Linked DNA regions of Homo sapiens: region 2 is linked to region 1. Evidence: promoter capture Hi-C in 16 types of primary human blood cells and fetal thymus (Javierre and others, 2016). All regions are on one chromosome and are shown on one strand. Each heading gives the region's core, a stretch centred on a gene start or on the middle of the fragment in contact. The rest is flanking DNA. Distances are from core to core; before and after follow the strand shown.

The links. The method cuts DNA at HindIII sites, captures the fragments that hold promoters and counts their contacts. A CHiCAGO score of 5 or more calls a contact.
Region 2: a fragment that was not itself captured here is called in contact with the fragment with the promoter of POFUT2 in region 1 in 1 of 17 cell types (endothelial precursors); the score reaches 6.9 in endothelial precursors.

What each region holds. Positions count from the first base shown.
Region 1 is chr21:45,285,807-45,289,399 of GRCh38, reverse strand. POFUT2 (protein O-fucosyltransferase 2) reads left to right here and starts at 1,505. Exons shown (of 9, transcript NM_133635.6): 1 at 1,505-1,659; 2 at 3,472-3,593. The coding sequence starts at 1,529. It overlaps LINC00205 (long intergenic non-protein coding RNA 205), which reads right to left and starts at 1,348. Exons shown (of 3, transcript NR_026943.1): 1 at 1,156-1,348; 2 at 1-49. RefSeq lists an enhancer at 164-894 and a silencer at 1,049-1,578. The HindIII fragment of the contact is 9,019 bases long and covers 1-3,593 here.
Region 2 is chr21:45,460,016-45,463,165 of GRCh38, reverse strand. All of the region lies in intron 2 of COL18A1 (collagen type XVIII alpha 1 chain), which reads right to left. Among named protein-coding and RNA genes, the nearest start is that of MIR6815, 17 kb to the left of the region's middle. The HindIII fragment of the contact is 1,526 bases long and covers 850-2,375 here.

The sequences.
Region 1 (3,593 bases), core at 256-2,755:
ATCAATCCAATGCACACCTCACATGTACTGACTGATGTCTTATGTCTCCCTGAAATGAATAAAACCAAGCAGTAAAACAACCGCCTTGGGCCAAGTTCTCAGGACGTCCTGAGGCTGTGTCATGGGTCATATTTGGCTCAGAATAAATCTCTTCAAGTATTTTACAAAGTTTGGCTTTTTTTGTAAACAATAGGCAGATATAAATTCCATTTGCTAATTTTTTTAAATGCTGTGTCTTGGTTCATGAAAGACATTGGTCTGTGGTTCTACTGTCTGGTGATGTCTGACTTTGCTATCAAGGCAATGCTGGCCCATACATCGAGCAGGGAAGTGCCCCTCCTCGTCCATCGTCTGAGTGGCTGGATTCCTATTATTTCTTCTCTAAGTAGGATTCACCAGCTTGGCCCTCTGGGCCTGGAATTTTCTGTGTGAGAAAATTTGATAACAAATTGATCTCAAATTTAACAGATAATAAGCATTAGTATTTTCTTTTTTGGTAACTGGCATCCTTCAAGAAATTCGTCCAATTATACCGTTTTGGGGGCTGCCTGCACTAGAGTCAGCGTGGCGTCCCCTCAGAAGGCCGGGTTTGCCAGCGCCGCGCCCCAAGCCAGGTCGGTCGGCCAGTGCTGGTGCCCTCGGGGAACAGCGGGAGCTGCCTGGAGGCTGCGGGGAGCGGCGGCGGCGGGCACGCACCTGGCTCCCGAAACCAGACCTTTAATAACGCCTCGCAGAAGGGGCGGGGTGGGAGGTTGGCAGCGCAGGGGCGGCAGCCCCGGATCCCCCCAGGTCTCCAGATCACCCCATCGAGCCCCGCGCCCTAGCAGCACAGTCCCTCCAGGGCTCCTTGGAGGGCCAGGCCTCAGCCCGGGTGCCCCCTCGCCGGGGCTCCAGGGTTGGGGGCACCCAGGAGGCCGCAGGTGTGGAGCTCGACGGCGCCCCCCGACTAGAAACCCAGGCTCTCATGCGCGGCTCCCGCCCCGACCCCAGCTCCAGAGGGGCGAGAGCACCCGGCGCCGACCCCGTCTACGGACCCCCTCCTCCGCCCCGCCCCCGCCGTCCAGCCCTCCCGCCCCTACCAGCCCCGGGCCTCCTCCCCACGGACCCGCCCCGCGCCACCAGCCGTCAGCCCTCCCGGCCCCCAGTCTCGCGTACCCTCCCCACTGGCCTGCAGGGTCCACCGACTTCCCGACCCCGGGACCTCCCGACCCCCGGACCTCCCGGCCTCGCGGACCCTCAGGAGCCCCTGCGTGGGCTGCGCCAGGGCGCCCGCGACAGCACCGCCGCGAACCACAGCCACGGCCTCCGGGTCTGCAATGGAACCTCTAGCCGCTGCGGTCAGGAGGGCGGAGACTCTGCGCACGCGCAGTTCCCCCTCCCGCCCCTGCTTGCCGGTGATGGCGCATAACGCATGCGCGGGGAGGGCGGAGCTGGGCGTTGCCGTGGCTACTGGGAACGCATTTCACGGGGGCGGGGCGTGGTTCCGGGGCGGGGCGCGGCCGCCGGAAGTGCGTGGCCGCCCGGGGCCATGGCGACACTCAGCTTCGTCTTCCTGCTGCTGGGGGCAGTGTCCTGGCCTCCGGCTTCTGCCTCCGGCCAGGAGTTCTGGCCCGGACAATCGGCGGCCGATATTCTGTCGGGGGCGGCTTCCCGCAGACGGTAAACGCGCGTCCACGGTGCCAACGCTGGGGTTCCAGGACCGGGCAGGGTCAGAGGATGGGATGGGGGCGGGGCGGGGTCAGGGGCCAGGGAGATGGGATGGGGTCAGGGGCAGGCCCACGGGATGGAGGGTGGTCCGGGGCCAGGGAGATGGAATGGAGCGGAGTTATGGGGCAGGGGCCAGGGGGATGGGATGGAGCGGGGTCAGGGGGCAGGGGTCAGGGGAATGGGATGGGGTCAGGGTTCTGGGGCAAGGAATGTGGCGGAGTAAGGGGCCAGGGTGATGGTATAGGGGCAGGGGGCAGGGGCCAGGAGGGATGGGATGGGGGCGGGGCAGGGATCAGGGCGATGGGATGGGATGGGGGCGGGGCAGGGGCCAGGGTGATGGGATGGGATGGGGGCGGGGCAGGGGCTAGGGCCAGGAGGGGTGGGATGGGATGGGGGCAGGAACGGGGGCCCGAGGGATGGGATGGGGGCGGGGCGGGAGCCGGGGCCAAGAAGGATGGGACGGGGACGGGACAGGGGCAGGGGCAGGGGCAGGGGCCGGGGCCGGGCTGGAGTCTGGGGGATGGGATGGGGCGGGGGCTGGGGGCAGGGTCGGGCCAGCGGGTTGGCTGTAGTCGAGGCTGCGTCACTGCGGCCCGGGTCTGCAGGCGGGGTCGTCTGCGAGGCCCGGGGCGCAGCCTCGGGAGCCCAGGAAGGGGGCCGGGTTGCTCAGGCTGAGCGTGGGCTGGCTCCGGAGGCCCCTGCAAGTGACACGGGTCCAGGCCTGGGTGTGCGGAGCCGGGAGTCAGTGCCGGGCGGGCGCTCCGCAGTGAATTCTCAGGGCCAAGACGAGCTTCGCGGCCGCCCTGTGGCTGTGGGATCTCCAAGCGGACCCCGGGAGGGGCCTGGACGCAGAGGTGTGCACGGCCCCTCGTGGCGTTCGCAGGCCTGGGCGCTGCACGCAGCTTCACTCGCGACGATGGGAGTATGGAAAACCAGCGCAGAGCAGGGAAAGGAGAGCGCCAGGGACAGGGTTTCTGTAGCCCTTGGGGACTTGTCTGTGCCTTGGGGACTTGTCTGTGCCTTGGGGCGCTTTGTGTCCTTCCTCTAGGGCAGTGATCTTAAAGTGTGTCCTGGATCTCTGAGCTTTTGTAGCCGTTTTAATAGTAGTACCAGAGTATTATACGCCTTTTTCACTTCTCATGAATGCACTGTGGAGTTTTCCTAGAAACCACTTGATCTGTGATGTCACAACAGATTGAATGCAGAAACGGGTATGGGAATCCAGCTGTCACCAAACCCAAAAGAGATTTGCAAAAATTAAGAACATCATCACAGTTCTTCTAATTCATTTTTTAAAATACACTTATTTTTTATTTAAATATGTGGTTTTTGTTAACATGTAATGGCTTCTTATTTTTAGCTGAATTAAATACTTGTAGCTTTAACGTCTAACATAGGACGTATCAATAGACATAGTGCACATAACCAGCCGTCAGTCATTGTTTCCAGTGTAAAGGGGTCTTTAAACCAAACAGTTTGAGAACCATGTGGGTACTGATTCTTGGGTTCCAGTCACTGGGATTCCTCTGCCTTAGTGTTGAACTATTGCTAATTGTTAAAACGATGTTAGCATGTCTGCTGCTTCTGCTTACAGGCTCCGTAAGTAACTGGTCATAGAGAAACAGGCCACTCACTGCCTTCACAAACTAGGAACCATTGTTAAGTGCCTAGAGTCGGGCCACGCGCTGAGACTTGTGAGCAGTCGGGTTTTCCGTGCAGAAACCTCAGCATTTGAGACCTGTGGTCCTCCTTCTCCCTGCTCAGGTATCTTCTGTATGACGTCAACCCCCCGGAAGGCTTCAACCTGCGCAGGGATGTCTATATCCGAATCGCCTCTCTCCTGAAGACTCTGCTGAAGACGGAGGAGTGGGTGCTTGTCCTGCCTC
Region 2 (3,150 bases), core at 363-2,862, 170 kb before region 1:
CAAGCTGCCCCTTCCAGCTGAAGTGACTTGAAGGGGATTTAGAGGGCTGGCACTGTTTTTTCTCCCTCATTTTTATCTTATTCCTCCTTTGGGAGCCAAACATGAAAGAACGGGACATTGAAAAACAGCAGCATGTAAGAGGAAAATTAGAAAGTGGCTGCACACACCCAGGGAAAGGGACAGGCTCAGAAAAGACCTGAGAAGACCTGAAGTTCACACCTAAGGGAGATTTCTGGCACAGACACAAAACATTTTTTAAAAAGTAACAAAAAAAAGCGAACGCTGGTGAAGGGCAAAATTCAAGAGCCACATTACTGAGTTCAAATGTTCACTTTTTAACACAAAATCACAAGGCACACAAAGCAATAAGAAAATATAGCACATTCAAAGGAGAAAAATAAATTAACAGAAGCTGTCTCTGCAAAAGACCTGATGGCAGATCTACTAGACAAAGACTTTAAAATGACTGTCTTAAAGATGCTCAAAGAACTACAGGAAGGTGTGGAGAAAGTCAAGAAAGTGATGTATGAACAACATGGAAATATCAATATAAAAACCTTGAAAGAAACCAGAAAGAAATTACAGAACTGAAAAGTACAATAGCTGAAATTGAAAACATCACTAGAGGAATCTGAAGGTGATTTGAGCAGACAAAAGAATAAATTAATGAGCTTGAAGATAAGATAATGGAAATTTTCAAAGACAAAAGATGAAAGAAAGGTGAAAAGAGCCTAAGGGGCTTGTGGCCACCATCAAGAGACAAGGAAGCATGCATGCCGTGGAAGCTGCAAACAGAAGAGAAAAAGAAAGGTGCAGAGAGACTATCTGAAGAAATAATGGCTGAAAGCTTCTCAAATTTGTTGGGAGACATGAATATAAACAGTTAAGAGCTCAGGGAACTCCAAGTAAGGTAAACTCAAAGAGACTCACACCAAGTTACATTATCATCAAACTTTCAAAAACAGAGAGAGAATCTGGAAAGCAGCAAGAGAAAAGCAACTGATCACATCCAAGGGCTTCTTAATAAGATTATCAGCAGATTTGTCACAGAAACTTTGGAAGCCAAAAGGCAGTGGACCAATATATTCAATGTACTAAAAGAAAAAAAAAACTGTTAACCAAGAGTCCTATATCCAGTAAAACTGTCCTTCAAAAGTGAGGGAGAAATTGGCATTCCCAGATAAACAAAAGCTAAGGGAGTTAATTGCCACTAGACCTGCCCTGCAGAAAATGGTCCAGGGAGTCCAGCAGGTAAAATGAAAGGACACTAGTCAATAACAGTAAGTCACATGAAGAAATGAAGATCTCAATAAAGGTAAATACATGGGCAATTATAAAAGCTGGTATTGCAACAACAGTTTGTAACTGCACTTTTTATGAATGAACCTGGAGGATATTAAACTAAAGGAAATAAGGCAGGCATAGAAGCAAATACTGCATGATCTCACATGTGGGATCTAAAAAAGTCACATTCATAGGAGCAGAGTAGAATGGTGGTTGTCAGGGGCTGAGGTCTAGGAAGGACAAATATGCGTGTGTGCCACAGATGTGGCTAGCAAGGAAGCCTCGAGGGGGGCCCAGCAGCCTGGCTCCAGACTGCTCTTCAGCATTGCAGCAGATGCAGGACAAGGAAGAGCCCTGCAGGGGGGCACCAGGAGACCAGCAGGTGTCCACCCTAATGGTGCAGGCCATCTGATAAGGGGTAGGGACTGGTGCCGGATGGACGGTGCCCATGCACAGAGTGGGGTGCAATGGGGCACAGCTGCCACCCCACTCTGTGCATAGGCAACGGGGGCCTCCTTGACTTACTGTTACTGAGTAGTGTCCTTTCATTTCGCCTGTTGGACTACTGGACCATTTCCTGCAGGGAAGGTCTAGTGGCAATTAACCCCCTTAGCTTTTGTTTATCTGGGAATGCTAACAGGGCACAGCCGAGGCCAGCCCACAGAGAAGAGGAAATGTGACTGTTGGTCGAAGGGTACAAAGTTTCAGTTATGCAGGAAAAGTAAGTTCTAGAGGTCTAATGTACACATGGTGATTACAGCTAGAATACTGTATCGCATATGGCACTTCAAACTTGAGTAGATCTTAAGTTTTCTCACCACACTCACAACGGTAACTGGTTGAAGTGATAGATGTCCACTAGCTTGACCTTAGATATATACAAAAACCCAAATATACGTAAAAGGACCTGCAGGAAGCCCTGTTTGGAGTGCTGTGCTTTTCATTCTGTCTGTGCTTAGTTCAGAATCACACAAGATCTTGTACCCACAGACAACTGCACCCAATGCACTGGGCCCTTGACACTCCAGTAGGAGTTAAATGCTGAGTCACTCTTGGTGCATCTAAGAGGCATGGAGAATTTACGAGAAGCTTAGCCAGCATCATCGAAAAAATATTTGTAGGTTGCCAAGCGGTGAGAGATAAGCATGAGTTATTTCCCAGAGTGGTCTTCTCCCTTCTTAAACCAAAGTTACATGGAAACATCAAACAAATCAAAGCATTTTAAGGAGAAGGGACATTTTCTCAAATTCTGCATTTGACTAAAGGAGCAAGAGGTAAGCACCATATAAGGACACCTGTGTGCCAGTGGCTGGCCCATGGGGTAGGGAGGAGCGATGAAGGAGCAGCCCCTCGGGGCCATCATGGTGACATGACCTTCACGTGCACTCCCGTGGCCTCCCACTGACCTCCGAATGTCCAGTGATGGGGGTGGAGGCAGAGGAAGCCCCAGCCCAGGGGCCTGTGCACCACTTTCCAAGATCACGGGACTCGTGCATTTGAGATGAGCGACTTGGCCGGCGTGTGTGTGGACCTGCCTCCCGAGCACCCCGGTGGCAGCTGTGCCCAGTTGCGCCCCACTCTGTGCACAGGCACTATCCATCCCGGCACTGGTCCCTGCCCTCATCAGATGGCCTGCACCACGAGGGTGGATGCCTGCTGGTCTCCTGGTGCTCCCCGGCTGGGAGCTTGCTTGTCCTGCATCTGCTGCGATGCTGAAGAGCGCTCTGGGGCCAGGCTGCTGGGCCCTCCTCCAGGCTCCCTCCTTGCTAGCCACACTTGCGGCACGCACACGTGTCTGTCCTTCCTAGGCCTCAGTTTCTCACCTGTAAACGGGAACAATACGCAGCTCCCAGGTCAGAGGATGCT